7 separate regions of the Homo sapiens genome follow, and regions 2, 3, 4, 5, 6 and 7 are each linked to region 1. Evidence: promoter capture Hi-C in human tissues and cell types (Jung and others, 2019). All regions are on one chromosome and are shown on one strand. Each heading gives the region's core, a stretch centred on a gene start or on the middle of the fragment in contact. The rest is flanking DNA. Distances are from core to core; before and after follow the strand shown. Region 1 holds the start of PIEZO2 (piezo type mechanosensitive ion channel component 2). Region 2 overlaps LOC107985173 (a long non-coding RNA gene). Region 3 overlaps LOC107985173 (a long non-coding RNA gene). Region 4 overlaps PIEZO2 (piezo type mechanosensitive ion channel component 2). Region 5 overlaps PIEZO2 (piezo type mechanosensitive ion channel component 2). Region 6 has its middle 150 kb from the start of PIEZO2. Region 7 has its middle 130 kb from the start of PIEZO2.

Region 1 (2,614 bases), core at 51-2,550:
GTGTAACTAAATTCAACATAAACAGTTTCCAGCACATGCCCGTCCCGAGCATCCTGTTAAGAGATACCCCGATCGCGCGCCCCAGAGTGGGAAGTGAGAGAGCCAGGCTGTGCACCAGGGACAGCGCGCGTCTGACGCCGCTGGCCTCCCGAATCGAACCCCAGAGCACCAGAGCCCTTCACTTTGTTAAGAAGTCCCCCACCCAGGCGCCCCCCTCGTCCTCCTCAAGTGCCCTCGGAAAGCGGACCAGACTCACCTACTGCCAGGCAGATGGGCAGCAGCAGCCTGAAGATGAGCCCGCACACCACTTCTGAGGCCATCGCGTCGGTCCGGCGAGTCGGAGCAGAGGGGCGAGGCTCGAGGGTCCCTAGGGGTGGTGGGACGCAAGGCCCATGCCCGTCTATGGCCTCTCGCCGCCGGCAGCTCGCAGCCACCCGAGCATCGCCTCGGCGCGGGCCGCGACGCTCTCCGCCCCGAGGGCACGCTCCCGGGGCTCTTGGCCGCCCCTCGCCCACCGGGCTCTGGGTAGCCCCTCACCAGGCTCTTGGCGGCCACCTAGCCCGGCGCCCGGCCCCCTGCGGCCGGCCCATTTAGTGTGAATCCTGGATCCGGCAGCGGCGGCGGCTTCTTCAGGGGTAGCTGATGCCGGGGCCTTGGAGAGGGACGCTTTGGGAGGGTCCTGGGAGGCGGCGCGGCGAGCAAAGGGGGCAAGAAGGGCGTGCTGTGCTCCCGCCTGGCTCCCGGGGCGTCGTTTGGGGGCGGCCGGGGAGTTTTCTACTTGGAAGCCCCTCTGAAGCCACCGCGTCTCCTTTGCCCGGCCTCGTCTCCGCTGCCCACGCAGGCTGCCGCGCTCTGGCCTCGGCCCCGGCTCTCGGAGCTGCCCGGCGGGCTCCGGGTCTCGCCCTCCAGCCCCCAGGCGGCCCGCGGCGGATCCCCGAGAGGCAGCGCAGCTCAGCCCCTGCGCCCCCCAGCTTCGGGCCGGAGAGACCGGGGTGGGAGCTGCCAGGCGCGCAGAACCATCCCCGCCACCACGGGGCTCGCCTTGTGGGTCCGGTGCGCGGGCGGCGCTGCGAGTCCCTCCCTCACTCGAAGGAACGGCGCGAGCGTGGGGAGAAATGGAGACCAGAGCGCATATCGGGTGAGTGGGTCTCCCACTCCCTCCTCCACCGCCTCAATTTAAAACTCAAGAGAAAAACCAGCGCCGTCCCGTCGCCCAGCGCGACCACCGCCTGCCGCCTTGCAGCCTCGCCCTCGCGGCGCAGCCGGGGCTCCCCGGCGGCGCGCGCTTCTCCACCTTCAATGAAACTTTCGAAGCCCTCACTCGGGGACGGGCGTGTCCCCCGGCCAATGGGATGGCGGCTCCGGGGCCTGCGCGCGCGGAGCCCGCCCCTGAGCGGCTGGGGAAGTGAGAGCCTTGCACCGGCGCGGAGGGCAAGCCCCCACCCGCGGCTCCCGCGCCTGGGAGAGACCCGGCCTGGCCTGCCAGTGGGCTGCGCGCCTTGGCTCGCCCTCCGCGGGCACTCCTGCCCCACTGGCTCCCGCAGCCCCGCGGCTCTGCGTGGTTCTGTCATTCCGGTGGTGCACCCTGGCATCCAGTCCACCCGGCCGGGCCCTGAGCTTGCCCAAACCCAGGGAACCGTTTAAGGTCCGAGGGAAACGCACAGGCCCGGCAGGAGAGAAGCCAGGGGCTTGGAGAGTCCTGTGCGACCCCGACTTCTGCTGGGTCCACAGGTGCACACTGGCATTAAGAAGAATAGAGCTGAATTCATCTACACCGTTGACCCTGCCCATATTTCACATAGCAAGAACTTGCCATTCTGAATAGACTCTGGGAAATCCCGGGTCTTCCCCAACAGATAATGCACCCACTTTGTGCATTTGGGGGAACTCTCCGTTTTCACCTCAGTTTTGCTCCTTGCTTGTCGTGGCTCTGGGGAAAGAGAGCGTTGGCACTGAGAATATTCTCCCTTTCTCCTAGTGCACTGCTTTTTGCCTGTTCTAGGCAAGATCTAGAGAAATCTGGCTCTAGCTGGGAGACTGCAGTGTGCCTGGGTCTTTTATTTAACTGTTATCCGAGAGTGGAGGAGATTTGCTAGAGCACAGTAGGGGTCTTTCCGGACATGGAGGAAGAGGCTGTTAGCATCTGTAGAGAGGACTGTTCAGGACTGGCATTCCATCAGGAGGACACACTGGGAAGGACCTGGCTTCCCTTCCGCACCTACATTCCTGGCTTGCATTAGTTGGAGGGGATAGAGCAGTGAGCTGATGAAAAACAGGCAAACCCCCGTCTTTTTAGCCATTTGAAACGCTTTTGTGGACATCCCTTTTTTGAGACAGGGTAAGCTTGTGGTTTGAGCTCAGGTGCCTTCACGAATTCTCTGAGAATTACAGAAAAACTATGAACCATTGCTTTTTGAATGAAGACTCAAGACAGTTGGCATATGGTGAAGACACCCTGAAACTTAAACCACCCATGTGCTCTGCCATCCTCAAGAAGCTTAGATAGCACCTAAACCCGGGCGTAGTCATGAGCTCAACAGCAGACCTACAGGAGACGATAGAACTTAAATTAGCATCCAGTCACCAAGAAATGCTATCAAGAAATGGTTTGTGT
Region 2 (2,614 bases), core at 65-2,564, 240 kb after region 1:
TATAGACAATATGAAAAATCACCAAAAAAAAATTTAATTGCATAGAGCCACATGGAGCTCTCAAGAGTTGAAAAGTTTCTGATTAAAGTTCGGAACTTTTGAAATTTTTCAACTGCTTTCCTGTTGGATGTCTACTACTTGCTTTTTAAAAAAATAATCTGGGCCAGGCGTGGTGGCTCACACCTGTAATCCCAGCACTTTGGGAGGCCAAGGTGGGTGGATCACAAGGTCAGGAGATTGAGACCATCCTGGCTAACGCAGTGAAACCCCATCTCTACTAAAAAATACAACAAATTAGCTGGGCGTGGTGGCAGGCGCCTGTAGTCCCAGCTACTCGGGAGGCTGAGGCAGGAGAATGGTGTGAACCCGGGAGGCGGAGCTTGCAGTGAGCCGAGATTGCGCTACTGCATTCCAGCCTGGGCGACAGAGCAAGACTCCATCTACAAAAAAATAAATAAATAAAATAAAAAATAATGATAATATGGCTGGGCGCGGTGGCTCACGCCTGTAATCCCAGGACTTTGGAATAAAATAAAACAAAAACAAAACAAAACAAAATTCCACTTTGGAAAACAATGAAGTAATAGAGGGCATCAATAACTTTCAGCTATAAAGAACACTACCCACAGCCTGGGGAAGACGCATTGCAAAGGCAAAATGAAATAATTCCTGGATCTCACACGTGGCCAGGAGGACCGTTTGCTCCCAACAGCCAGATTGGTACAGACCTCACAGTGCACAGAGTGAAAGGAAGAGGACTTAGAAGGACCTCACCTTGGCAGTGCCACCGAATTAGTCTTCCATTACAGGCTGTACTGCTATTGCCTAAGAAAGTTTAAGAGCAAACTGTAAAATAATCAGACTGTTTCCACGGAACGTAACTGTGCTCTAGAAAGTAACTCATATATATTTATAAGAATAAAAAAATTCCCAGAATTGGCAACATAAAATCACAATGTTGGGCATTCAGTCAAAAATTACCAGTTCTGCAAAGCATCAGGAAATAACCCATAATAAAGAAAATTATTAGCCAATAGAAATAGACCCAGAAATGATAACGATAACAATATTTGTAGACAAGGACATTTCCAGTCACTATGCCTTTCTTCTGTATGTTCAAGAAGGTGTAGGAAGGCATGAACATGTGAAGGAGGGACACAAAAGATATTTTAAAGCCCAGGTTGAACATCTGCAGAAAAATACATTTGACAGGACTATCAGCAGATTAGACATTGTATAATGAAAGAGCAATACATTAGAAAACGCAGCAATACACATGATCAGAAATAAACACAAGGGAGCTAGAGAAAAAGGGACAATGTAAAAAGGTATGCTATATCTGTAACTGGAGTGCCAGATGGAGCATAAAAACACACTTGAAAATCTGATGGTTAAAAATTATCCAAATGTAATGAAAATTATAAGCTTCCAGAACCAAGAACCTCGATGAGTGGCAAGCAAAATAACAAGGCATGAATTTTAAGAGAAAAGGACTGATAAATTTCATCAAGACTAAAAAAACTTTCTCTTCAAAAGACACTTTAGAAAATGAAAAGGTAAGCCACACACTGTGGGAAATATATGCTAAGTATGACTAAGTACTTCTATCTGGGAATACACAAAGAATATACAAATAACTTTTTAAATGGTAAAATCCAATTAAAAATATATATTTTAGCAGATACTTAATCAAAATATTATATAAATATGGCACACAACATGTACAAAGATGCTCAACATCATTAGTTATCACAGATGTGCACAGCAGAACTATAAAGAAGGGACCACTACACCAGGAGGTCTAACATTTTTAAAGGCCGATAATGCCAAATGTTGTCAAGATAACTGGAATGGTCACACAGTGTTGATGAAAATCAAAAATGGAAGGACTGTTTTGAAAAGGTTTGACAGTTTTATAAAAATAAAACATAAACTGGCTGGGCATGGTGGCTCATGCCTGTAATCCCAGCACTTTGGGAGGCTGAGGTGGGTGGATCACTTGAGGTCAGGAGTTCGAGACCAGCCTGGCCAACCTGGTGAGACCGCCATCTCTACTAAAAATACAAATATTAGCCGGGTGCGGTGGCAGGCACTTATAATCCCAAATACTCAGGAGGCTGAGGCAGGAGAATTGCTTGGACAGGGGGCAGGGGTTGCAGTGAGCTGAGATAGAGCCACTGCACTCCAGCCTGGGCAACAAGAGCAAGACTCTGTCTCAAATAAATAAATAAACAAACTACCATTAGATGCAGCAATTTCACTCCTAGATACTTATGCAAGAGGAATGTAAGCATATGTCCACATATACACTTTTACAGATATAATTATAGAAACTTTATTTGTAATAAGCAAACACTGGAAACAACCCAAATGTCTGTCAAGGGCTGAACTGTATCTACCCAAAGTGTGTATATTGAAGCTCTGGACCCCAATCCCTCAGAATGTGCCTATTTGGAAATAGGGCCTTTAAAAGGGTGATTAAGTTAAAATGAAGCTATTAGGCTGGTTCCTCCTCCAGAAGAGGACATTTGGATACACGAAGAGACATCAGCGATGCACACACAGAGAAAAGACCATGCAAAGACGTCTGAAAGCCGAGGAGAGCGGCCTCGGG
Region 3 (2,614 bases), core at 68-2,567, 220 kb after region 1:
AGGGGAAAGATAAAATGTGCTTCCAATTCAGTTTCACCCCTTTAGTTTTGTTTTTTGTTTTTTTGAGACAATCTTGCTCTGTCCTGTTGCCTAGGCTGGAGTTCAGTGGCTCAATCTTGGCTCACTGCAACCTCCGCCTCCCACGTTCAAGCAATTCTCCTGTCTCAGCCACCCGAGTAGCTAGGATTACAGGCACGCACCACCACACCCAGCTGATTTTTTTGTATTTTTAGTAGAGAAGGGGTTTCACCATGTAGGCCAGGCTGGTCTCGAACTCCTGACCTCAAGTGATCCACCCGCCTCAGCCATCCAAAGTGCTGGGACCGGCCAGTTTCACCTCCTTGAAATGTAAACACCTATGAAGATAACTCTCTAAATCCCTCAGGTGATCTCAAGGTTATTCAGTCTGTCTTTCCAGTTTCCCAGGCCCCACCCGGGCATGCAAACTTCTTCCCACTCAGGGAAATAGAAGAACTTTTGTCTTGGATTTCTACTTAGTCTCCATTAAAGAAGAAAAATAAATTAAAATTTTTTAATTAAAAAAACACTTTTGTTTTCCTTTAGATGGAAGGGAATTAGTTCCAACTAAAAGAAGACAAATAACCGCAGTTTAATACTCAAGACGTGCAAAAAGTAAAATATTTGGGGGGAAAGGAAAACATTCTCTAGCTTCATATTATATCCATTTCAGTGGTTCAGGGAACCAGAATTTTGCAGGAATAAAAGAAATCCAGGAAAGATTTATTTCTTCGTGCATGTATTTTAAGGCTATAAAATTCCCTCTATTGAATGATTTATGTATATTTCACAAATATTCCCTTGGAATTTACATTTTCTTCTAAATATTTTCTAATATTTCTTGTGATTTCTTTTTCCTTTTTTCCCTTTTTTTTTAAATTTTTTTTGAATTATTTTATGTATGTTTCTTAGTTTCCAAACATTCTGAGGGCAGGCGCCGGCCACCCTGTAAACCTGTAAAAGCATACAGGTTTACCTGTTTCTTTGGATCTTCATTTTCTTGTGAAGGTTCCTATATCCAATGAAACTTTTATTAAACAAATTTGTGTGTTTATCTCTTGTTAATCTTTCCGTTATTAGGGAGGCCTCAGGCATAAACCTAGCAATCACTGAGAAAAAAATATTTTTTTATCCCCTACAGTGATAAAATATATAGATATATATAATAAAATGTGCTATGTTAAGCATTTTTATGTGTACATTTCACAGTTCAGTGGCATCCATAAGGTTTTATATCATCTGTTAGTTTCAGGCTTATACATGTACCAAATCAACATTATTATGTTGCCTAAATCTTCTAAATTCCCATTAACTTTTTTGCTGCCTTTTCTACCCATGATTGAAAGAGGTGCAAGTTCTCTCATAATTTTGTAATTTTTTTCTAGCAGTTTTGTAGTTTTATACCATATACTTTGACCATATACCATATACTTTGACATGATGTTGTAAGATTTATAATTATTTTATTCTCCCAGCATCTCATCTATCTTTATCTTATCAATACATAAATATCCTAATTAGCCATACACATTTTTGCCTTAAAATGTATTCCATTCTATGTGATTTTATTACGAGGATCAAGCTGAGTGGCCTAAGGACAAGGCATTTCGAGTAGATGGGACAGGATCAGATTTATTTTCCTTTCAGTGGATGGTCATGTGAAAATAGCTATAAACCTCATGGGTGAAGAGGAAATTCTGTGGGATGAAAAACAAAGGCAAATTTGTATTTGGTTCAATTCTCTGCGGAATCACTTTGCCTTTCCTTCTCTGTGGTTGGTCAGCTTTCCTCAAAGATCCCAGCATGCTGCTACTCTGTGTGACTCTGAGTCATCCACTTTTAAGTGACCTGGGCATCTGGCACTTTAGGACACCCGATATCTTTTGCTTCTGTCTTTCATATCTGTGCTATTTTCAGCCTCAGCAGAGTTTTATATACAACTCGTTCTCTCAGGCATGACTCCCCTAAGCCAGCTAGTGCCTTGTTTTGCGTCTTGTACATGCAGGTCTGGAGTGGAAACTGTGCTCCTTCAGATGGCACATTTTATTTGAAAGCAGTTGGCATTCACTGAGATGCACCCACACAATATTCCCAGGAAGGATGGAAAGCCCTGCTACTTGTATTTATTTTGTTTGAATTACAACAAAAACAAACTTGGATATTGAGTAACTGGGCCTTGATGGTGACAGCAATGAGAATGAATGCAAATCACTGTGAAATACCTTACACCCACATCTTGATGGCCACTTTTAAAGAACAAACTAAAAAGCTGAACTCATACCAACATTGCCCCAATCCTTATCTGTCAAACACCTTTTGTCTATCTTACATATGAAAGAAAAAAAAAACAAACAGCTGTTTATTTCAGTCAAATAAAATGTTACATGCTATTCCCCGTTTCAGCCTCTACCACTTTGCCCAACAAAAAGATGCCCAAGGTTTCTCTAGGGCAGTTCACAATGGCTTCTGCTTCCTTTGCCCGCCTCACTCCTATTCTCTCTTTCAAGCACGTTTCAGTAGATCACATTTTGAAGAGGTTGCTTGTGATTCTGAAAGCTGTCCAGTTCCATAAAATATACCCTCTTCATGTCACAGG
Region 4 (2,614 bases), core at 33-2,532, 170 kb before region 1:
TTAGGGAATGGAAAGAGAAGGGGACGGGGCAAGGTGAGGAACCCAAGCCTCCTCACTGATCAGCTATCAGAAGAAAGCAGGCAGCCAAGAGTGGTTTCAAAAAATGACTCAGAACATGCAGGGTGTGAGTTTGCTTTTATATATTTTGTCTCCCATTTCGTACTTATTAGCTCTTTTCTCCAGGGTACTGTCTCAAATATGAAAAATTAACATCAAGAATTTCATTTGTGTGAGAATGGAATTATTTGTATGAGGATGGATCCACCAGGTGATTCTGCAGATCTAGGGTCCATCTCCAATTAGCACAACTAACGAAGCATGGGGTGAAGTTTACAGCTTTGTGTGCCAAGGGATGAGTCAGCACTTGTACTGGCAAGCAGAGTATACACAGCAGTGGCTCACTCTGTAGTCCTCCCCACAGTCGTCGGGATGGGAGGATAAACTGCCAGGCTGGGTCTGTCCCTCAGTCTTCTTGTCGTAGGCCGACGCTTGATACCTTGATTCTTGGCACTGGGAGCCTTGTGTGTTTCAAGGATAGAAGCATGTCAGGAAAAAACATTACTGAGGCCCATCCTAATTTCTTGGTTGGTGGGCTTCTGGACCAAGTTTCATGTGCTTGTAAAAAGAGAAAAGATGAAACTCTAGATGCCCCTCCTCCCACAGGGGGAAAGAGCAATGCATCTGAGGGGGCTAACCTTTGGGGGAAGCTGAATCCAACCAGGAATGCTGCCATTGAAGGAAGCAAAGAAAATATTCAGTTAATTATAAGGACAAATATCCAAGCAAGGGAAAGTCATGGACTAAGTATCAGAAACGCTAATTTTAGCCCTTTGAAAATAGACTTATCCAAAGTCCTAGGAGCCACAGTGGAGGAAACAATCTTACACACACGATGAATAAAGAGCTCCGTAAAGATGGGGGAAGAATGGAAAGCCAGACAGATCCGTGCTCAGACTCCAGCTGAGACATGCAATGGTTTCATGCAACTCATTTGCCCTCTAGAGCCCGTTTCTTCATTGCAATCCCTACCTCAGCACTATCTGCAGGTTGGGCACTGCGTTTATACAGAAAAAGGGCACCCTCTTGGAGAAAAGAGACTACACAAAGGCATAGCCCTCCGTGGCAAGGTTTGGCCAGGAGACCAGCCTCTTGATGTAAATCAGAGGATTTCGCTGCTTCCCGCTGGATGGAGCCTGACGAAGGAATCTCCTGCTCAGCTCCTCCTCAGGCTGGGGCCTGCACACAGAGCACAGGGGTCCAGCTGCACAGCCCTGTCCACCCTGAGGACTTGTTTAGAGAATGAATAGGACAATGCTTGGATACAGAGAGTGCCTAACTTAAAGAACAGCAAAGCTCACCTGGAACAAGAAAGGAAGGAGTCATTAATTGAAAAAGGAATAGAATAATCCCTAGGGTCTCATGGTTCATAGATGCTCTATAAACAGGAGATATTATCATCACAAATTTTCCCTATATAGTTTCTAACTCAAAAGTTTCTTTCAATGAATAGCATGCTTTAAGCACAGCACAAGAATCCAGACTGGCCTTCAAATTTCACTAACATCGCCACACATCTAACACGGAGTCAAACAAACTACGTCTATGTAATCTGTAATGACATAATTGAAACCGGGTTTACATTTATTTAAGTAGCATAGTTTTGGTGGAATGAAAATATTTTAGTAAGCGGCACAACATATGTTTGAGCAAAATTTACATAGGTGTCCCCTGCCCCCATGGACTCCTCACTTACCTATAAGAACACTGTTCTGGAAATGAGGGGAAAAAAAAAAGGCAGAAGGGAGTGTTGTTAAGTTTCAGCTCTGCACAACGGCACCTTTAACAGACCTGCCAACTAGTCAAAATCTAAATAGGGTGGTTTGAAAAAATCTTTATTACTGCCAGTTAATATTCACAGGACTCTGGAGGAACGAGAACTTTCAATGACTCAATATTTATAAATGCTACTGTTGTCCCACCAAAACTTATGTCAGATTCCTAAGAGATGCCGGGACCTTTTGCGATAATGAGGGTGAGGGTATGCATTTTAAATGGGGGAAAGAAGTTGTTAGGAAAACAAAATTTAACACCTATAAATGAGCGCTTGGTGGTCTTGAATTTGAATACTACTTGAATATGATCGACTTGTCTGGGTTTTAATTTTAATTTACCAATGTCTTGAACATACAAAAAACATTCAAAATGTACAACACTGATGACCAAGACAGGTTTTGTCTTTTTATTTGAACTTTTGCTATGTTATCTATGCAGATGCCAAAAAAGGATAAACTTCAAATTTGGGATATCGAAATGACTGAGTTGTGTTTACATCTCTGATGGTATAATCATAACTCTAAATGCTTGAGAAACAATAACATTAGTGAAGTGAAGTCAACTCTAAATTAAAAGTCAGTGTTTCCATTACCCACACTAACAGTATTTTCAGTTTATATAACTTGATCATTAAAAAGTGCTCTGGGCTGAAAACCTGGTCTGTGTCAATCTTGGACTAAATTAGTTTGCAAAGCTCTGAAGTTTGTTTGTTCTTCTCTTTTATCCTTTTTCAAGAATGTATTAATTTTAAATGCTACACATAAAACTAAACCAAAAAAAT
Region 5 (2,614 bases), core at 58-2,557, 150 kb before region 1:
GAAAATGATTTTAAACCAACCATTATAACCAGGCTCCATGATGTAAAAGTAAACCATGTTGAAATAAATATAAAGATAAACATTATCAGCAGAGAAATACAAACTACAAAAATTAATCAAATAAAAATATTAACAACAGAAAAAATACAACACTGTATCTGAAATTAAACATTCACCTAATGGTCTCAAGAGCAGAGTGGTAATGACAAAAAATGAGTTAGTAATGATGAAGAAATTAATAGAAATTACCCCATCTGAAGAACAGAGAGCAAAAGATTGAAAAAAGTTAATAAAACCTCAGAGACTTAAGGGACAAAATAAAAAGGTCTATCATTTGCATCATTAGAGTTATCAAAGGAGAGCAGAAAGATTGGTTCAGAAAAAAATTTGGATAATACAGTATTTTAACATTCCAGAAATTTGGTGAAGACATAATGTACACATTCAATAAGCTCAGCAAATCCTAAGTAGGATGAGCTCAAAGAAACCACTCCCAGATACATAACTAACCTGTTGAAAAACTAATATAACTAAAGAATGAAAACAGAGAAAAATGTCACATTATGTGTAGGGAGAAAACAATTTAAAGACCACATATTTTTCATCACAAACTATGAAGACTAGCATACAGTGGAACAATATCTTTAAATCTGCAAAAGAAAAGAATTATAAACTTAGAATTTTATACCCTGTGAAACTGTCCTTCAGGAATGAGGCAAAAAGAAAATATCCTCAGAGGAAGGAAAATTAACCTGCTATCAAAGCAATGCTAATGTAAGTTCTTCAGCCTGAAGGGAAATGGTACCAAAAAAACACGTGGAATTCATGAAATGAAGAAGAGCAACAGAAATGGATTAAAAAGATATTTGTTTACACACACACACATACACATACACACACACACACACACACACTCCTTAATTACAGTCTTGCTCCAGTTAATTCATGGAATTTCTAGAAAAAAATCTCTCTTTTTTGGATTTGGAAATACTTGGTGTGTACAGAAATAATTGAGGGTATTATGTTGCCCACGTGTTTTAACTAGGCACCTTCATTTATATAAGAAATATGAGTATATTTAAATCTGAATAATTCAAAGATGTGTCACCTAATAAATATCCACTCATAACTCATGCTAACTCCAAAATTATTTCCAAAAGTAACCCAGACAATAGATTTGCAAAATAAGTAATCTATGGCTATAATGGCATAATACCAAACTATACACTTATATACTATTTTTTCTGTGATTATTAGAATGCCAACAGAATAAATTTGATGTTAATATTAACTGAGAAAATTAACAATAAGGAAAGGAAGTAGAGTTTTTAAACAAATTTTAGCATGTTTTATTCATACATTTTATTTATTTCTGATATATTTTCTCAAATACAGCAAAAAAAAAAAAAAAAAAGAAAGATTGTCACTGCGTAGATTCCAGTCAGGAACTGGGATTTAAACAAACATTTAAATCTAATGCCTCATTTACTCTACTTCTGAAAGTAATTCAGAGGCTATTTCCTTAGCCAACATTTCCCATTCTGTAGCTTTCAATGATTTAAATGTGGCATGCAAATGTGGAGGATCCATGGTTCTTTGGAGTGTGCCAATTTTTGTAAACTAAGTTTGAAATTTTCCACTTAAGAAACAATCCACGCCAAAAAATGTCAGAAATTTTTAAAGGAGAACTCTGAGCCTCCTCAGTGGAAAGGCAACAGCAAAAAAAAAAAAAAAAATCAGTTTATAGATAAGTTAATGTATTGGATACCAAATCTGCGTAGAGTTTGAAGAGTTCTGTATTTCAAAGTCTTCTTCAGCTCACCTCCAAGTTGATATTTTGATCTTTTATTTACAGCTCAATTAGAAAAACCTAGTAAAAGCACAGTTGGTCCTCCATATCTGTGGACTCCATATCCAGTAGATTCAACCAACCATGGATGAAAAATATATTTTTTAGAAAGATGTTTTAGTCTGTGCTGAACATTCACAGACCTTTTCTTTTCTTGTCCTTATTCTCTAAAAGAGATAGTATGACAACCATTTGCATTGTATTTATATAGTTTTTTGTAATATAAATAATCTAGAGATTATTTAAAACATATGGGAGAACGAGCATGGGTTATAAGCAAATATTATGCCATTTTATATAAGACACTTGAGCACCCAAGGATTTCAGCATCTTGGGGGATACTGGAAGCAATCACCCATGAATACTAAGAGACAACTGTACTCTGCAGTTCATGCACTTGGACTACATTAGAAAAAATTTAGAAAAATTGTCTTAGAAAGCAAGTATTTATATTTAAAGAATTTCCCACAATTTTATGCTCCAGGTGGAACAAATAAAAAGCAAATTGATACATAAAACTGGGAATTTTCTTCTAAATTCTAAATGAGATTAAATACAAACACCTATGAGCTGGGAAGAATGTGCTGGGACTTCGAAATAAACTCAGAAGTCAACCTTGTAGGTTAAGTACATGAAGTTGCTAATACCTAACCATGTTGACTTATAAAAATGGCCATTTCACTGGTATCAAACTAATACAAATGAAGAGAAGGAACACATGTCTACTTTCTATTCCATTGGAAATCTCATTCAAGCACTCTTCAA
Region 6 (2,614 bases), core at 61-2,560, 150 kb after region 1:
TACCCATGTTTTTCTCTTATTTCCCTCAGCTTCAATCCATTAGATAGGAAAAAATTTATTCTTTTCCCAAAAGGGGAAAATGTGCTGAGAATTAGAAGACAAAATGGAATTATTAGATACAATAAATTTTTCAGAATCTGATCCTCTTAATTCAAAAATTGCAATTTATATTGCCATAGAGGACATTTAATTATTGAATGATGAAGAATTACAAAAACTGCTAAAGACAGAACCTGATCAACTGTGGTCAAAGTCTTCCACAGATATTGGAAAAACTATCTAACTTACCTCAATCAAAATTCAAATAGACTCATTAAAACCCCTTCCAAACCTTAAACAAGACTCTAAAACCAGAAGCTTTAGAAAGAATAAGACCTATAATTAGAATGTAATTATTATAGACTAAGTCTATAATTCTAGACTATGTAAAAAGAGATCTGATTATTCCCTGTACAAGCCCATGTAATACTGCAATCTTTCCCATAAGAAAACCAAGTGATAGAGAATAGATGTTTGTAGAGGATCTGAGAGAAATTAACAACATGGACATTTCTCATCATCTAGTAGTGCCAAACCTCCATATAACTTTGATTACCATCCTTACCAAAAGTGAGTTCTTTACTATAATAGGCCTATGTAGTGCATTCTTTAGTATTTACGTGGATCAAGACATTCAATTTATCTTCACCTTCACTTAGGAAGACAGACAATACGTATGGACAGTCATGCCTCAGGGATACACTGAGAGCTCAACTTACTTTACACAAATATTAAAAGCAGATCTCTCAGATATTGACTATATTAAGAAATATATTTTAATGCAATGTGTAGATAATTTGCTTGTCTGTTCAGAGGGTAGGCAAGCCTCCATGGAAGATGGGATTAACTTATTACTACAATTAGCCTTAAAGAAACACAAGGTCTCAAAAAAAAAAACATTCACTTTTGTCAAAAACAAGTAAGATTTTTGAGTAATCTAACATCAAAGGAAGATATTTTTATCCACCTGGATAGGATAAAAGAAATCTTGGCATTCCTTACTCCCAAAAGTAAGAAACAACTCAGAGGATTTGGGGGACTGGCAGAATACTGTTGAAATTGGATTCCAAACTTTTTTTTAAACTAAAACTTTCTATACTTTTATAAAACAAGACAAGCCAGGCCCCTTGGAATGGACAGAGGAAAATCAGTCAATATTGGAAGAAATTTAAAAAGAACTTTATAGATGCTGCATCTTTGGGATATCCAAATTATAATATTCCATTTTCATTGTTTGTTCATGAAAATCAAGGAAACGCCTTAAACATTCTGAAACAAAAACATGGAGACCAAAATAGGCCTGTAGGATACTAGTCAGCAACTACACCTTGTGGCTAAAGGATTGCCACCTTGCATGAAGGCAATAACTGCCACTGCTCTGTTAGTAAGAGCAACCGAAGAAAGAGTGATGGATCTCCCCTCTTGGTTTTCATGCCAAATTCTTTGCAAGTATTTCTAAATTCATAGCACACTCAACATTATTCTGTCAGCAGATTAGCTTCTTAGGAAGTTCTTTTTCTTTCTGTAGCTCATATTACAATATCTAGGTGCAAAAATCTAAACCCCCTGCTCCTCTGTCTCTGCCTTCAGATGAGATACCACACAATTGCATAATCTCAACTCACCAGGTTCTCTCTCCTAGAACAGACCTACAAGAAGCTTGCCTTACTCTTACTTAAAAGATGAACCTGGGACTTACTTTTCGGATTATGCTATATTATCTTTAACTAAAGAAAGTGCTTACCTTCCAGAAGCCACCTCAGCTTATCAAGCAGAATTGATAACATTAATCAGAGCCTACCAGTTGGCAACTACAAATATTCATATAGATGGCAGATATGCTTTCAGAGGAGCTCATGATTTTGGAATGCTATGGAAACGAAGAGGTTTTTTTTAACTTCTTGTGGTCAGTCCATAAAAAATGAACACCTTATTTCACCATCACTAGAAGCCATATTAAAATTCACTGGCCATTATTAAAATTCCGAGTCATTCCAAATCAGATACTGCAGAAAATAAAAGAAACAAGTTAGCTGATAAGGTAGCAAAAATGGCTGCTCTAAACGTATCTGAACAAGAAAAGGAATCTACATTAAGTCTCAAAGAAGCACCTGAATTTGGAATAAAATTAGCTCAATCCAGAGCTCCAAAATCCAAACAGAAAATTAGAAGACAAAAGGAGGAACATATTCTCCCAAAGATGAAGTATGGTATGGACCAAACAACTTATCTATACTTCCTACTGGAGATCATCATTTTTAACCTATGTACATGATTTAACTCATTGGAGCCCTGAAAAAATAGTTGCTTGAGAAAATGTTTTTCTCCAACTATAGTTCATAAGGTATACAATTGCTGCCATATCTGCCGAAAAGATAATCCAGGAAAACCTTTACATGGCTCCTAAGGACATTTTGCTTTACCTGATGGTGTTTTGAAGCATGGCAGTTACATTTTTTAAAAAACTTTTTAATTTTTCCTAATAGGTTTTTGGGGAACAGGTGGTGTTTGATTACATGAATATGTTCTTTAGTGCTGATTTCTGAGATTTTGGTGCATCTATCATCACCCAAGC
Region 7 (2,614 bases), core at 47-2,546, 130 kb after region 1:
AAGCTTTGAACAACTGGGGAGGCAAAAGTCAAGCTACATTTTTTTCTTAATAATGTTGTTATGTGGTACTGTGCCTGGTACCCCAAGTTAATCTGATTATTCCCAGGAATGTTGCCTTTCAATGAATGTTATCTCAGAGCCACCTGCTCACAGTGGTGCACGTTCTAATTCTTGGCCCTTGAGCAAAAATTTCAGAAAGAGTCATCATGCCCTCTATGAATGACAAAATAAAAAGCTCTCAAAAGGAGATCCCTTCCTTCCTCACTTTGGTGTGCTGGACTCCTTGGGCAATATCTGTGCCCATAATTCTCTTTGAATACTTTAGCCAGCATGCAGACTCCTTACCTGCATAGTAACTCCCAGCTCATTTTCTCTCTCTTCTTGGCCCCTGTGACCTCCTGCGGTTAAGCAGCCCACAGACCCTTGGACCGCAGAGTGCAGGCATCATCAGCTCCACTTGACTGCCAATGCCTTCCAGGAACCAAGGTCAGGTCAAGCTTCCTTGGCATACAGCCCACATCTCTGCAGCAGCTGAGAGGCTTGGGCTTTCCTCTCCTGGAACTGGGGCCAAGTCTCTTATTGAAGCATCTTGTAGGCAGAACTCCATTAATTGTACGAAGACAGGGAGGGAGATGCTCTGATTAGGCCATTCTTACATTGCTGGAAAGAAACACCTGAGACTGGGTAATTTATAAAGAAAAGAGGTTTAATTGGCTCATGGCTTTTCAGATTTTACAGGAAGCGTGACATTGGCATCTGCCTGGTTTCTAGGGAGGCCTCAGGAAGCTTGCAATCATGGCGGAAGATGAAGCGGGAGCAGGCGTGTTACATGATGAAAGCAGAAGCAAGTGAGAGACTGGGAGGGAGGCACCACACACTTTTAAATGACCAGATCTGGTGAGAAGGCACTCACTGTCGTGAAGACAGCACCAAGCCATGAGGGATCTGCCCCATGATCCAAACACCTCCCACCAAGCCCTACCTCCAGCACTGGGGATCACAATTCAACATGAGATTTGGGTGGGGACAAATATCCAAACTATATCAGAAGGGCTGTGCTATCTTGGGAAAGCTACCATCCAGATTTCTTAGCTTTTCTTAATGTCCAGGAAAACCAAACTGGCAGAATCTAGTGAGAGAGACGTGTATAATTGGCTGCACTGGGCACTTTCTTTATTCATGTGCTGTTTTGGGGGAAGTCAGCTATAAAGAAGAAGCACAGAACTTAATGAAAATAAAGGCATCCATGCTCCTCTCTATGACTGTCACAGCAACGTTTCAGCTGCCCTGCGACTCTGTTCCAGGGTCGCCGTGATGGAAGAGCAGGGTGGGGGCCAGTGAGCAGGGTCTCAGTCGCCCCTGGCCACTCTCATGGCTGCTTCCCCACCCCCACGCAGATGCTTTCTGCCTGACTTTCTTGAGTATGAAAAGCCTTGAGGCTTGGGCCCTTTCGGTTCCTGGCTTTCCCCCATTCCTGCAGCCTTCAGGTGGATTTGCAGACGGTCCTCTTCACCCTCTACCTACTCCATCATCCTTGCCTCCACACCCTTGATACCAGCACATTCCCAGTCCCCAGTGGTGCTGGACACTTCCCTTGTGGGAGTGACTTAGGAGTGGCCTTCCAGAGGGTGGGAGCAATTTTAGGAAAGAGGTCTTAAAACTGCATCTGCAGAGGAAGTGCGGGGTCTTACATAGAGGGAAGGATGGGTGAGGGTATTGAGGAGGATCTCTGGTCACCCCAGAACAATGCAGCTATCTTTGAGCTCCCCCTCCTTGCAAACACTCTCACACACTTGGTGAGATGTGGTTCTCACGTGGTCCATATTCCTGTGGGATTCCTGCCTGAACAGCAGGCTGAGGCCTCTAATTCCTAATGTGTACCCTAATAGCCAGCCCACCCAAATTCCTTCCTGGCCCATCTCCCCAGCTGGGGTGAATCTGGGTCCTGAACCGGTACAGTCAGCTGAGAGAAGTTTTGATTGATTGCTTTATTCCATTCACTCACTCCCTCAGCAGTAACCTGTTAATTTTTTTCCTTAGGTGAGGTGCTGGGGATACTAAAATGAACAGGCAAAATCCTTTCCCTTCCTCGAGGAACCAACAGTGCAACTGAGGAGAGCTAAGTAAACAGTTCTGATGGAGGGAGACACATGCTCTGATAGAGGTGGTCAGAGGGTGTTGGGGGACCCAAGGGGAGAAGCCAGACTCAGCTTTGGAGACTCGGGGAAGAATTTCCAAAGCTGCTGGTTTTCTGGACAAGGTCCCATTAACTCCCATCCCAAAGGTGGGATCTTTCTTCTAGTACCTCTCAGCGCCCTGCTTCATCTCTTAAGCATCCAATTCTGACATGAAATAGAACATTGCTGCTATTGGCTGAATGTTCGTGACTGCAACATCTATACATTGAAACCCTACACCTTCTGGAGGTGAGGTCTTTGGAAGGTGATTAGGATTAGCTGAGGTCATGTGAGCTGAGCCCCCATGAATGGGATCAGTGCCCTTATAAGCATCCTGAGAGAGCTTGCTTCACTCCGCTCTCCACCATGTGAGGACACTGGGACAGGGCAGCCACCTGCAACTCGGAAAAGGGCCACACAGAACCCACCATGCAGGT

Evidence for each region. The method cuts DNA at HindIII sites, captures the fragments that hold promoters and counts their contacts. A contact is called where the count stands out against the background at its distance.
Region 2: a fragment that was not itself captured here is called in contact with the fragment with the promoter of PIEZO2 in region 1 in 3 of the 25 tissues and cell types used here (mesendoderm cells, spleen and thymus).
Region 3: a fragment that was not itself captured here is called in contact with the fragment with the promoter of PIEZO2 in region 1 in 2 of the 25 tissues and cell types used here (H1 embryonic stem cells and lymphoblastoid cells).
Region 4: a contact is called between a fragment that was not itself captured here and the fragment with the promoter of PIEZO2 in region 1, in 2 of the 25 tissues and cell types used here (mesenchymal stem cells and neural progenitor cells).
Region 5: a contact is called between a fragment that was not itself captured here and the fragment with the promoter of PIEZO2 in region 1, in 4 of the 25 tissues and cell types used here (bladder, liver, lymphoblastoid cells and 1 more).
Region 6: a fragment that was not itself captured here is called in contact with the fragment with the promoter of PIEZO2 in region 1 in 2 of the 25 tissues and cell types used here (IMR-90 fibroblasts and aorta).
Region 7: a contact is called between a fragment that was not itself captured here and the fragment with the promoter of PIEZO2 in region 1, in 2 of the 25 tissues and cell types used here (H1 embryonic stem cells and aorta).

The regions. Positions count from the first base shown.
Region 1 is chr18:11,148,269-11,150,882 of GRCh38, forward strand. It overlaps PIEZO2 (piezo type mechanosensitive ion channel component 2), which reads right to left and starts at 1,301. Exons shown (of 56, transcript NM_001378183.1): 1 at 257-1,301. The coding sequence starts at 320. LOC124904249 (a long non-coding RNA gene) reads right to left here and starts at 248. Exons shown (of 2, transcript XR_007066288.1): 1 at 1-248. RefSeq lists an enhancer at 1-710 and silencers at 404-473, 484-663, 684-963, 1,204-1,653. The HindIII fragment of the contact is 6,242 bases long and covers 1-2,614 here.
Region 2 is chr18:11,384,236-11,386,849 of GRCh38, forward strand. The region is part of intron 1 of LOC107985173 (a long non-coding RNA gene); the gene reads right to left. The region is part of intron 1 of LOC124904250 (a long non-coding RNA gene); the gene reads right to left. Among named protein-coding and RNA genes, the nearest start is that of LINC01928, 69 kb to the right of the region's middle. The HindIII fragment of the contact is 8,830 bases long and covers 1-2,614 here.
Region 3 is chr18:11,364,755-11,367,368 of GRCh38, forward strand. LOC107985173 (a long non-coding RNA gene) reads right to left here. Exons shown (of 3, transcript XR_007066289.1): 3 at 2,351-2,614. Among named protein-coding and RNA genes, the nearest start is that of LINC01928, 88 kb to the right of the region's middle. The HindIII fragment of the contact is 7,204 bases long and covers 1-2,614 here.
Region 4 is chr18:10,973,697-10,976,310 of GRCh38, forward strand. All of the region lies in intron 3 of PIEZO2 (piezo type mechanosensitive ion channel component 2), which reads right to left. Among named protein-coding and RNA genes, the nearest start is that of PIEZO2, 170 kb to the right of the region's middle. The HindIII fragment of the contact is 6,453 bases long and covers 1-2,614 here.
Region 5 is chr18:10,997,466-11,000,079 of GRCh38, forward strand. The region is part of intron 2 of PIEZO2 (piezo type mechanosensitive ion channel component 2); the gene reads right to left. Among named protein-coding and RNA genes, the nearest start is that of PIEZO2, 150 kb to the right of the region's middle. The HindIII fragment of the contact is 4,541 bases long and covers 1-2,614 here.
Region 6 is chr18:11,295,982-11,298,595 of GRCh38, forward strand. No RefSeq gene overlaps it. Among named protein-coding and RNA genes, the nearest start is that of PIEZO2, 150 kb to the left of the region's middle. The HindIII fragment of the contact is 3,450 bases long and covers 1-2,614 here.
Region 7 is chr18:11,279,193-11,281,806 of GRCh38, forward strand. No RefSeq gene overlaps it. Among named protein-coding and RNA genes, the nearest start is that of PIEZO2, 130 kb to the left of the region's middle. The HindIII fragment of the contact is 6,382 bases long and covers 1-2,614 here.